3 separate regions of the Homo sapiens genome follow, and regions 1 and 3 are each linked to region 2. The links are contacts of gene promoters, found by promoter capture Hi-C in blood cells and fetal thymus (Javierre and others, 2016). All regions are on one chromosome and are shown on one strand. The core of a region is centred on a gene start or on the middle of the fragment in contact, and the rest is flanking DNA. Distances in the headings are between cores, read along the strand shown.

Region 1 (4,005 bases), core at 1,165-3,664, 530 kb before region 2:
AACGAGACAGAAGGTTACCAAGGATATCCAGGACTTGAACCCAGCTCTGCACGAAGCAGACCTAATAGACATCTACAGAACTCTCCACCACACATCAATAGAATATACATTCTTCACAGCACCACATCACACTTAATCCAAAATTGACCACATAGTTGGAAGTAAAGCAGTCCTCAGCACATGTAAAAGAAGAGAAATCACAAGAAACTGTCTCTCAGACCACAGTGCAGTCACACTAGAACTCAGGATTAAGAAACTCACTCAAAACCGCACAACTACATGGAAACTGAACAACCTGCTCCTGAATGACTACTGGGTAAATAACGAAATGAAGGCAGAAATAAAGATGTTCTTTGAAACCAATGAGAACAAAGACACAATGTACAAGAATCTCTGGGACACATTTAAAGCAGTGTGTAGAGGGAAATTTATAGCACTAAATGCCCACAAGAGAAAGCAGGAAAGATCTAAAATCGACACCCTAACATCACAATTAAAAGAACTAGAGAAGCAAGAACAAAGAAATTCAAAAGCTAGCAGAAGGCAAGAAATGACTAAGATCAGAGCAGAACTGAAGGAAATAGAGACACAACAAAACCCTTCAAAAAAATCAATGAATCCAGGAGCTGGTTTTTTGAAAAGATTAACAAAACTGATAGGCCGGTAACAAGACTAATAAAGAAGAAGAAAGAGAAGAATCAAATAGATGCAATAAAAAATGATAAAGGGGATATTACCACTGATCCCACAGAAATACAAACTACCATCAGAGAATACTATAAACATCTCTACGCAAAGAAACTAGAAAATCTAGAAGAAATGGATAAATTCCTGGACACACACACCTTCCCAAGACTAAACCAGGAAGAAGTTGAATCCCTGAATAGACCAATAACAGGCTCTGAAATTGAGGCAATAATTAATAGCCTACCAACCAAAAAAAGTCCAGAACCAGACAGATTCACAGCCAAATTCTACTAGAGGTACAAAGAGGAGCTGGTACCATTCCTTCTGAAACTATTCCAATCAATAGAAAAAGAAGGAATCCTCCCTAACTCATTTTATGAGGCCGGCATCATCCTGATACCAAAGCCTGACAGAGACGCAACAAAAAAAGAGAATTTTAGGCCAATATCCCTGATGAACATCGATGAGAAAATCCTCAATAAAATACCGGCAAACCGAATCCAGCAGCACATCAAAAAGGTTATCCACCAAGATCAAGTTGGCTTTGTCCCTGGGATGCAAAGCTGGTTCAACATATGCAAATCAATAAACATAATCTATCACATAAACAGAACCAAAGATAAAAAGCACATGATTATCTCAATAGATGCAGAAAAGGTCTTTGACAAAATTCAACAGCGCTTCATGATAAAAACTCTCAATAAGTTAGATATTGATGGAACGTATCTCCAAATAATAAGAGCTATTGATGACAAATCCACTGCCAATATCATATTGAATGTGCAAAAACTGGAAGCATTCCCTTTGAAAACTGGCACAAGACAGGCATGCCCTCTCTCACCACTCCTATTAAAATAGTGTTGGAAGTTCTGGCCAGGGCAATCAGGCAAGAGAAAGAAATAAAGAGTATTCAATTAGGAAAAGAGGAAGTCAAATTGTCCCTGTTTACAGATGGCATGATTATATACTTAGAAAACCCCACTGTCTCAGCCCAAAATCTCCTTAAGCTGATAAGCAACTTCGGCAAAGTCTCAGGATACAAAATCAATGTGCAAAAATCACAAGCATTACTATACACCAGTAACAGACAAACAGAGAGCCAAATCACGAGTAAACTCCCATTCACAATTGCTACAAAGAGAATAAAATACCTAGGAATCCAACTTACAAGGGATGTGAAGGACCTCTTCAAGGAGAACTACAAACCAATGCTCAACAAAATAAAAGAGGACACAAACAAATGGAAGAACATTCCAGATTCATGGATAGGAAGAATCAATATTGTGAAAATGCACATACTGCCCAAGGTAATTTATAGATTCAATGCCATCTCCATCAAGCTACCAATGACTGGAAAAAACTACTTTAAAGTTCATATGGAAATAAAAAACAAGCCTGCATTGCCAAGACAATCCTAAGCAAAAAGAACAAAGCTGGAGGCATCACACTACCTGACTTCAAACTATACTACAAGGCTATAGTAACCAACACAGCATGATAGTGGTACCAAAACAGAGAGATAGACCAATGGAACAGTACAGGGGCCTCAGGAATAACAACACACATCTACAACCGTCAGATCTTTGACAAACCTGACAAAAACAAGAAATGGGGAAAGGATTCCCTATTTAATAAATGGTGCTGGGAAAACTGGCTAGCCATATGTAGAAAGCTGAAACTGGATCACTTCCTTACACCTTATACAAAAATTGATTCAAGATGGATTAAAGACTTAAATGTTAGACCTAAACCATAAAAACCCTAGAAGAAAACCTAGGCAATACCATTCAGGACATAGGCATGGGCGAGAACTTCATGACTAAAATACCAAAAGCAATGGCAACAAAAGCCAAAATTGACAAATGGGATCTAATCAAACTAAAGAGCTTCTGCACAGCAAAAGAAACTACCATCAGAGTGAACAGGCAACCTACAGAATGGGAGAAAATTTTTGCAACGTACCCATCTGACAAAGGGCTAATATCCAGAATCTACAAAGAACTCAAACAAATTTACAAGAAAAAAACAACCCCATCAAAAAGTGGGCAAAGAACAGACACTTCTCAAAAGAAGACATCTATGCAGCCAACAGACACATGAAAAAATGCTCATCATCACTAGCCATCAGAGAAATGCAAATCAAAACTACAATGAGATACCATCTCACACCACTTAGAATGGTGATCATTAAAAAGTCAGGAAACAACAGATGCTGGAGAGGATGTGGAGAAATAGGAATGCTTTTACACTGTTGGTGGGAGTGTAAGTTGGTTCAACCATTGTGGAAGACAGTGTGGCAATTCCTCAAGGATCTAGAACTAGAATTACCATTTGACCCAGCGATCCCATTACTGGGTATATACCAAAAGGATTATAAATAATGCTTCTATAAAGACACATACACACGAATGTTTATTGCGGCACTATTCATAACAGCAAAGACTTGGAACCAAACCAAATGTCCATCAATGATAGACTGGATTAAGAAAATGTGGCACATATACACCATGGAATACTATGCAGCCACAAAAAAGGATGAGTTCATATCCTTTGTAGGGACATGGATGAAGCTGGGAACCATCATTCTCAGCAAACTATCGCAAGGACAGAAAAGCAAACACTGCATGTTCTCACTCATAGATGGGAATTGAACAACGAGAACACTTGGACACAGGTTGCAGGACATCACACAGAGGGGCCTGTCGTGGGTGGGGGGATGGGGGAGGGATAGCATTAGGAGAAATACCTAATGTAAATGATGAGTTAATGGGTGCAGCAAACCAACATGGCACATGTTTACATATGTAACAAACCTGCATGTTGTGCCCATGTACCCTAGAACTTAAAGTATAATAGTAAAAAGAGACTTTAGCCTAGGGAAAATTAATAATAATAATAAAGCAGATGTAGCAAGGATATTTAATATCTTGATTAGAAGCAAGTCAGTGAATTTTTAAAATGACATTCTGAAGTTGTTTACAACCAACATTTATTATTATACTTAGCAAAAAAGAAAGGCAAAAGTTACCAATGCATTATAAGTGTAAGCTATTATCAAAAGCTAAATTACATGCTGCTTATGCCCTACATCAGTGCTTCCCAAACTACAGTACCCTCTAGAATTGCCTACAGGGCTTGTTAAAACATAGACTTCTGCCTGCCAGACACCTTCTTCCCCTTCAAATTTCCGATTCACTAGGTCTGGGGTATATGGTCCAAGAATTTGCATCTCTCGCAAATTCCCTGATGATGCAATGCTGCTGATCTGGGATTGCACTTTAAGAACTCTTGCTCTAAGCTCAGGACAGAGAAACCATT
Region 2 (4,377 bases), core at 899-3,398:
CCCTAGGAAAGCTGAAATCTGAGTGACAGGCTTAATGGCTTAAAAATTATCACAGGAGTAAAACATTTAACACCAAACTATGAGCAGGAAAAGAACAGAATGCTCTAAAATATTCAGAGTGAATGCACATAAATATTTATCTATTTCCAATACTTAACAGTGTAAAGTCCACAGCACGTCATTAATTCTGGTTAATACAACTATATTAGAAACTGAGAAACAATATGGCATGGAGGTTAAGATACCCGAGAGCTCCACAGTCCTTCAGACAGGGTTGGAATTCCAGCTCAACCACAGATCAGCAATGTGAAACCTTTAGGAAGTTACTGCATTTCTTTGTGCTTTGAATACTCCATCTGTAGAACGGGTAATCGTGTAAGGAAGTAAGTCAATGATTACAGACTGAGTACTTATAATACCGCTAGGGTAAACTATCAATAAAACTTGATTGTATTTTTTAAATATCATTGCTCAAAAGATTGGTATCACCAGAACTGGGCAAAATTTTCAGGTATCCAAGGTCCAGAAACCAGGAAAGTAATTTGTAAAGGATCCTTTCCCGAGTAAGGGATTAGCTCACCCCTCTATAAGCTGAAAACCTTTTTGTAATTCCTGGGGAATGAAGAGCCCTAATGACTTTTTTTTCTTTTTAAAGGAAAAGGGTTACAAGAGGTTTCTACTGCTGGGCTAAGGCCCTGGTGGCTTCTGGTAGCTATAAAACCACGAACGTTAGGTAAGGATTAGAGAAGAAACCCAGAGTGGCTGTGAGTCAAGAAAAGACATCAGATAACAGCAATTATTTTACCATTATGTGACACGTAATACTAATGTTCCTACCTGAAGATAAAGAGCACAATTTTAAAATCTCCGCTCCTCCATTTCCAAAATCCAACAGCTGCTGGTCCCCCTACCACTTAAGCCATATTCTGCCCTCCAATTCGGCTGCGCAGCCTGCATTAGAGAAACACCAGGCAAGTGGGCGGGGGAGGGGGTAATGGGGAAAACGCCCGGATGCTGAAAGATACCTAATACTTTTCTGTTCCTACTCACTGCCTGCGGTAGTTTTAACTACTTAAGCCGGTGTCCAAAACGGAGAAAAAACGTCTCAGTCCTGCCTTATCGCGACCAGGTACCAGGTGATCAGAAATCAACACGAGGAGGCTGGCTGTCCCCACACAAGCCCCGGAGCCTAGAACGATGAGGCAAGAGGGCTGTTGGGCAGAGAACGTGACCTTGTTTTCCAGGCCAGGACTGTCTTGTGCTCCCCTAACCCCCTGTAATGCAAGAAAATTACTGAATAGCTTCTGAACCTTTTCGTCCCAAGACCAATGATATGAGAGCCAAAGTCAACTTCATTAAAGGAGAACCAGCCAAGGCAGAAATCGACTGGGTTTGCGCAAACCTCACCGCACAGCACAATGTCCCTGCGTTCTTAAAGGCAGCCAATCCATGGCCCCGATCTAACCAGTCTCGCCCACAGGGGCCCTATTTTGTGCACCGCAACCCACACACGGTCTCAGCTGCTGAGACCGTGTGTGGGTTGCTGAGTCACTGAAGACGGCGGCTCGGCCCCCAAAACGCCGTCAGCCCTGAAGTGGGGTTCGGGGCCCAGGCATACGGGGTTTTAAAAGCTCTACAGTCTGGACGTCCATTGGCTCTGGCACTGAAGGGCGTTCAGGATTAAGTAATTCTCGGAACCTCCCTTCTCCAGAGCCGCCTGGGCGCCCCAGGGAAGCCATCTCGACTACCCGCCCCCGCCCCCGCGGGCCCTTCCCCTCCCATCCCCTCCGCTCCTCTACACTCACGGGGACCCTGTCCGGATATTTCTTCCGGATCTTTTCTCCTTCCTTTTTCCGATACTCAAAGGGATGGTCCTCCTTGTACTGGAACTTCATGATGCACCGCAGGGCTTCCGAGATCCCCGCGCGGGGCCTGCCTCCTTCGCCGCTGACCCTGTCCCGCTCCCTCAGCCGACGTCAAGGTGTGCTCAGAATAGCTGCAGAAACGTCCGCTCCGGGGGCAACAGCGCTGGGCCGAGTGTGCAGGGGGGGTTCGGGGCGGGGATCTCGGGTGAGCCTGCCTGGAGGTAGAGGAGAGCCAGATGGAGAAATACCGGCGGCTTTTCGCTAGAGCTGGGAGCACAAAAACAGCTGGGTGGCGCGTCGGGCTGTGACGTCACCCCGCGAGCCCCGCCCCGCCCCCCATGCGCCAGGCGCCCAGGGCAGGGGGTGGCCGAGCGCTCTGTCTCACTGCGTTTCCTTTCTGGCTAACCTTTTTCACAATCGATGTCACTGCAAACATCAAAACATTCGAGTTATGTTTTATTTTGTGACTGTGAAATTAAAGATGGTTTTAAGACAAAAAAAAGATTTAAACATGTTTTATTCCCCCTCCACTGTTTTTCTTGGTTGGGCCCCAAAACAAATACAAAAGGCGAAAATCCAGCCTTTTCCTGCTGGTTGGGATCCAGCCTCAGGAGAAAAGAGGGCCAGGCCTCCTGGGATCCCTTTGGCCAATGCAGAGCTGTCCCGTGCTTGCACCGTGCCCTCTGCGCGTTCCGCTGCCCCTCCCGCGGCCCTCCTCCCGCGCTGGCGTCACAGTGTTTGGGCGGTGCCGCAGTTCGCTCCTGAACAGCAACATAAACAGAGCGTGACTCAGGAATCTGAAGAGAGGAGTCAGATGAAGGACACGGAGTGTAATCAAAGTCTAAAGGAGACATGATGTCAGTAAGGACTACCGAGGGCTTCACGTACAATCAAATATAGAAATGATTCACTTTCTAGCCGGGCGCGGTGGCTCACGCCTGTAATCCCAGGAGGCCGAGGCGGGCGGATCACCTGAGGTCAGGAGTTCGAGACCAGCCTGACCAACATGGAGAAACCCTGTCTCTACTAAAAATACAAAATTAGCTGGGCGTGGTGGCGCATGGCTGTAATCCCAGCTACTCTGGAGGCTGAGGCAGGAGAACCGCTCTAACCCGGGAGGCGGAGGTTGCGGCGAGCGGAGATCACGGCGTCGCACTCCAGCCTGGGCAACAAGAGCGAAACACCGTCTTACAGAAAAAGAAAGGAAGGGAGGGAGGGAGGGATTCACTTTCTGCCATAAACTCAGAAAGGGGGCTCGTCTTCTGGAAAAGAGAGTATCAAGCAATTTAGGTGATGACCTCAGTTGTTCCCCCACATCTTATTTAGTTCCAGTGGTTAGGTATCCCTCACGTGACTAGAAAGCGCTGCCTGGAATGCTAGTAGAAGATTGGGCATTAGGGCAGGTGAGGCGAAGCCTCGTTCTGGATTTCCCCACCTAGAGTCAAAGAAGAAAGACCTTCCAACCAGTACTGTAGGGCAGCGACAGGGAGGACTGTGGAGTTTGCAAAGAAAAAGAACAGTGAAAAGGGGCTGCGTTGCCCATACAAGTCGGGTGAGTTCTGATAAATATTAGATAACAGCAGCCCCGTGGCCTATCTTCTTCAGTCGGGGTCTCAGTGTCTCTAATTTTAAAAACACCCACAGGGGGCCAGGCGCGGTGGCTCACGTCTGTTCTCCCAGCACTTTGGGAGGCCCAGGCCGAGGATCGCTTGAGCTCAGGAGTTCAAGACCAGCCTGGGTAACATGGCAAAACCCTGTCTCTACAGAAAAAACAAAAATTAACAAGGCATGGTGGCGCGCTCCTACAGTCTCAGCTACTGTGGAGGCTAAGGCAGGAGAATCGCTTGAATCCGGGAGGCAGTGGCTGCAGTGAGCTGAGATCGCCCACTGTACTCCAGCCTGGGAGAGAGAGCAAGACTCTGTCTCAAAAAGAATAAATAAATAAAAATAGGCCGGGCGCGTTGGCTCATGCTTGTAATCCCAGCACTTTGGGAGGCCAAGGTGGGTGGATCACGAGGTCAAGAGATAGAGACCATCCTGGCCAACATGAGACGAGTGAAACCCCGTCTCTACTAATAATACAGAAAAAATTAGCTGAGCCTGGTGGCGCTCGCCTGTAGTCCCCAGCTACTCGAGAGCCTGAGGCAGGAGAATCACTTGAACCCGGAAGGGAGAACCCGGGAGGGTTTAACTATATTTGCATCAAAACTAAAATGAGGCCGGGCGCAGTGGCTCACGACTGTAATCCCAGCACTTTGGGAGGCGGAGGTGGGTGGATCACGAGGTCAGGAGATCGAGACCATCCTGGCTAGCACGTGAAACCCCGCCTCTACTAAAAATACAAAAAAATTAGCCGGGCGTGGTAGCGGGAGCTTGCAGTGAGCCAAGATCGTGTCACTGCATTCCAGCCTGGGCGACAGAGCTAGACTCTGTCTAAAAAAAAAAAAAAAAACCTAACATGAGCGACTGAAAATTAAACTGTTTTCAATTTGAAAGTAAGACTTAAAATTAT
Region 3 (4,637 bases), core at 333-2,832, 570 kb after region 2:
CTGAACTTAAAAAATCTTTGCAGAAAGCTGGCTCCAATCCTTAAGGCTCCAGTTCCAGAAATGGTCTGCACAATGACAAACCGGCCACTTTTCAAGACTTCGCTGTTCTCACCAAGGGCTAGTTCTGCAGATGCCTTGCAAAATTCAGCCAGTCCCCCAGTGGACAGGTATTCCTTGTCCAAACTTTTTGTGGCAATCTGGGCCTCTGCCTTGGGGACGCTAGGCAGCACGTCCAAGGCTTTCCGTTATCATCCCGGTAGGCACCAACTCCCAGATTCATCTTTTTGCTATTGGTGTCCCTCTTAAAGTCTTCAATGACTGCCAGGATGATATCTGGAGGTCCCATTTCCACATGGGTCCATCAGGAGCTGGCTCTGGCAGAGGCCGCAGCTGCGAGGCCCAGGTGGAAGGTGGCAGCGATCCCAGAGAGGACGCAGCCAGAGTGCAGCAGGGCCACGGTGGACAGTAGGAGGGCAGTGGGCAGCTGCAGGACTGAGCAGAGGGCTCTCTGTAGTGTTTTAATTGCGAGAGACGATTTGTGAGGCTGATCTGAAGCTGTAGCCAATCTGGTCTGCTTTGCATGTCTTTCTGTATGGTCCATAGCAAATTTGCTGAGGACCTCCATCTTGTTTAACATCCTTGGGAGCAAGACCTGTAACCACTTGGCAAGGTTTTGTGTAGCCTCTGTGTAGCTTGGATTCAATCCTGGCTTAGGGAATGAGTCTTACCTGGTTTGATATCTGCATGACCTTTTGCTATTTGTTGATTCCATTTCTCTCCATGAACTGCCTTGGATTTTCCTTTCTCTGAGCCTTTAGTAAAGTTTGAAAGCCAGAAATATTGGCCACTTGGTGTGGCTAAATTCAGATAATAAGGGAGTTAAGAGGAATTTCTTAAGGAGTGCTCAGCTTAACTAAAAGTGGATATCCAAGTTAGAGTCATATTTAAAAGGTTTCCCTTTTCTTGGACCTTGTTTTGCTGGGAAAAGGTTTTTCTTGGTCAACTGAATTATTTTTTCTTCATTTTGCTTTGCCACTTTTTTAATGCACGCACAAGAGAGGAGAGACCTCTTTTTTTTCTCATGGACTCCAGAAATTAAAAGCACCCAGAGGCCAATAATCCAATTAGGAGATTGGCAAATGAAAGATCTTATGGGGACCGGGTTATCTTCTACCTGTCTGTGTAATTCTATATGTGTTGTGTGTGTGATGTTTACATAAAAAAAAGAGCTCTAATTAATTTTGCCTAAAGGAAGACAAGCACTTGGATCAAATATTTTATGAAAGAGAAGATAAAAAGCTGTGGTACCTTTCAGTTCACGTGACTTTAATCTTGGAGAAATAAAAACAGCCTTAAAGATTATTGGTAAAAAGCAGATGTCATAAAAATGTAAATAGGTGGACTAAATTATGCAGGTCAGATACTAGGTTGGCAAAATATTTTAAGGTCATAAACTGCTTTTTTGGTTTTTGAGAACTTTTCAATTTGCTGGCTTCACAATTGGCAAGGCCTGGGGACACATGGAACTAAACACTCCCTTAATTATGTTGGAAGGAGTCAAACCTTGGCTGCATCTAGCACATAATCAAAACAACTTACCAGGTTTTACATTAAAGTTAAAAACTGCTAAAAGTTACCATTATGACATGTAATTGAGACTATTGGAAATAGATTTACATGCAAGGTGCATAAGGACAGTGAAATGTGTTTTTAATAAAGATTATAAGAAATCATAAAAATGTAAATTCCTGCCTAGGGTTGAAGATTTGTTTTAAATTAGATAAGATAAAGCTAAAAGTTCAAACAACTGGTGGAAGGATTGTAAAAATTAATCTTGCAACAAATTCTCTGTGTGAACATATTGACTAACTTCAAAAAGTATTGTATGATTTTTCTGTAAATTGAGCATTCAAATAAAAGCACAGCAAGGTATCCTTAAGGCACTAATCTGCTCGTCAGCAAAATTTGTATGAAAGGGCTGTACAAGGTTTTTTCTTTAAAAAAATTTCTTAGTTGTTATTTCAGCAAAATAAATAACTTATGGTAATCCGGAATTCTATTTCATAACAGCAAGTATTTTAAGCCTCTAATATATTTAATAGGCTTTCCAAAATCAAACTTCAGTTTCAAAATTGTCTTTTCTGACACCTGGCTTTTCAGATACTTCAGAGGGCCCCTGGAGTGTTCAGAAAAGAAAGGTAAACAGGATTATGTGACACGTTTAGGTACATGGGATTGCCAAAATGGTATTCAGTCTTCTTTAGGTCATATTTTGGTGAATAATACTAATATGTGTTCCAAAATTGTATGGAATTTCTAAAATTCTAATGTCTAAAGAATATCCTATCAATCATAATTAAAGTTGTTAAGTTATTGTAAACTACAGAGATAACAAAACTTTGTCAATTGTGTTTCTAACTGTAACTACCCTGGACATATTGTTATTCACAGACAATTGTTGTTTTAATCTTTTTCAAAAGATGGTTTATAATAAGCTAGAGAACTTTTACAAGTGCTCTCAGATACAGGTTTCTCATACCTTTGGGGATTGTGACATTGGAATAAAGGAAAAATGTACAGAACTCATGAAGAGCTAAAATGTTCATAAATATCAAGCAAAATAAGGGTTAACTGGGTGAACTCAAAAAAATGAAGCAATCTTTCTCAATTTTGCTTGGATATTGCTGATCCTTGTTTTGTTTTTTAGAGTCAAGAAAACATATTTTGAACTATTTATAGCCTTTAATCATTGAGTAGAGTATACTCCTGTGAACAAAATTTGGAGTATATTTGCTTCTCTCTGCCTGGTTCCTGTAGAATTTGGAAATTATCTGTGAGTATTCTTAACTTACAGCAATATACTTGTTTGCATCAGTGCAGTAAAAATCCATTTTCTTTTGCAACAGGATGCAATTGGAGTAACTGGTTGTTTTACCAAGGCTTTGACTGGAAGGGTATGCTTCTCTTTAAGGAGTCAAGCTCAACTTGCAGAGCCAATAAAAGTCCCTTGGGGAAGGCCGGGCGTGGTGGCTCACACCTGTAATCCCAGCACTCTGGGAGGCCAAGGCGGGCGGATCACCTGAGGTTGGGAGTTTGAGACCAGCCTGACAAACATGGAGAAACCCCATCTCCACTAAAAATACAAAATTGGCCATGTATGGTGACACATGCCTGTAGTCCCAGCTACTCGGGAGACTGAGGCAAGAGAATTGCTTGAAGCCGGGAGGCAGCGGTTGCGGTGAGCCAAGATTGTGCCATTGCACTCCAGCCTGGACAACAAGAGTGAGACTCTCTCAAAAAAAAAAAAAAAAAAAAAAAAAAAAAAAAGTCCCTTGAGGAAACTGGTCTCAGAGCCTTGTCTATGCAGTTCCTGTACAGGGTTCATGACCTGTGATCAGTAAAGAATGTCACTTTCTAACAGGCCCAGGAGCTCCAAGTTTATCTTGGAACCTTAAGACAAGAGGATTACCCAACTCACAGGTATTTGAGGATACAAATACATGTCTGGGCGTGGCTTTAAAAGATCTTATTTGAGATTACTTGTGGAACAGCATTCCATCAAAGCCAATCAAAAGGCCTATGTAGAAATAATTATTTTTGCTGCACTTTATGCAAATAATCAGGCCAAGTATAAGACTAAATTCAATTTTGCAAACAACTGAGTCCTATCATGATTTGTGTTTTTAACAAAAATGAGGACTGGAGAGAGAGAAATTATGTTTCAAAATTTATCATACATTTGTCTTAAAATTCTAAACTCATTAGTTGTTTTTCAGTTTTTGCCTACATTTTCAGACTAACCCTGCTTGTTCCTGTGAACCAACCAGTGATCTCTGTGTGCAGCTCAGAAAGAACAAACAGGATGGGTAATGTAGAAATCTGGATCAATATTCTAGTTCTGAGCAATTATCCTGCAAATCCTACCAGGTGATGGGAATAAATAGGTTGCCCATCACTCAGAGGGTTTTTCTGGGGGGGAGGTGGGGGAAAGTAAGACCAAGGGAGCTAACCAAAGCCAAGCAACATGCACCCAAATCCTAGGAAGCATAACTATAGCCACCAGTTATCTAGGCATGTCACTGGACATCCTTTTCTCTCCCTTGTTGGAAGAGGACTCAATTCCACAGCTTCACTTTAGCATTTGGTTTATGATAAGGAGTCCATGCAACCCACTCCAAGATGCATTTTTGTCCCAAACTTAATTCCAAGTTTTGAGTCAAAGGCCTAGGAAAGAAAACTGGATCTGAGGGATCCAGAGGCAGATGATAACGGAAGTCAAAAGACATAGTGCAGGTGAGTGTGGCTGATTCCTGCCAATTAAGCCAAGCTTCCAGTTTCATGGATAAAGGCTACGCTAGTATCCATGGCATAAATGAGGTCTAGGGAATCCAAAGGCTACTGACAGAAGGGGAGATAGGGCATACATGGGTGAGAATGGATACTCCCACCTCTTAGGCCCTCACTGTTAACATGGGCGAAAGCCACTTTAACACCCATGGCCACTGGTCACAGTCACCAAGACTCAGGGATAAAAGGATGGAGGAAAGAAAGAGGAACACCTCACTTTTCCTCCCTCATGTATCCTGTGTATTTGCTAGGAAGAGAAAGGAATCAGAGGCACTGGCTCCCCTCTTTCT

Evidence for each region. Contacts are between HindIII fragments. The CHiCAGO score rates a contact against its expected background, and 5 or more counts as called.
Region 1: a contact is called between a fragment that was not itself captured here and the fragment with the promoter of GABARAPL1 in region 2, in 2 of 17 cell types (naive CD8 T cells and total CD8 T cells). The highest score is 8.6, in naive CD8 T cells.
Region 3: a contact is called between a fragment that was not itself captured here and the fragment with the promoter of GABARAPL1 in region 2, in 1 of 17 cell types (neutrophils). The highest score is 5.1, in neutrophils.

Annotation. Positions count from the first base shown.
Region 1 is chr12:10,742,837-10,746,841 of GRCh38, reverse strand. No RefSeq gene overlaps it. Among named protein-coding and RNA genes, the nearest start is that of LINC02366, 5.4 kb to the left of the region's middle. The HindIII fragment of the contact is 6,352 bases long and covers 1-4,005 here.
Region 2 is chr12:10,210,648-10,215,024 of GRCh38, reverse strand. GABARAPL1 (GABA type A receptor associated protein like 1) reads right to left here and starts at 2,148. Exons shown (of 4, transcript NM_031412.4): 1 at 1,806-2,148. The coding sequence starts at 1,895. GABARAPL1-AS1 (GABARAPL1 antisense RNA 1) reads left to right here. Exons shown (of 3, transcript NR_170310.1): 1 at 1-383; 2 at 656-971; 3 at 1,063-1,376. RefSeq lists a silencer at 2,016-2,275 and an enhancer at 2,369-2,911. The HindIII fragment of the contact is 15,130 bases long and covers 1-4,377 here.
Region 3 is chr12:9,637,538-9,642,174 of GRCh38, reverse strand. It overlaps the pseudogene LOC374443 and the pseudogene GOT2P3. Among named protein-coding and RNA genes, the nearest start is that of CLEC2D, 30 kb to the left of the region's middle. The HindIII fragment of the contact is 5,494 bases long and covers 1-4,329 here.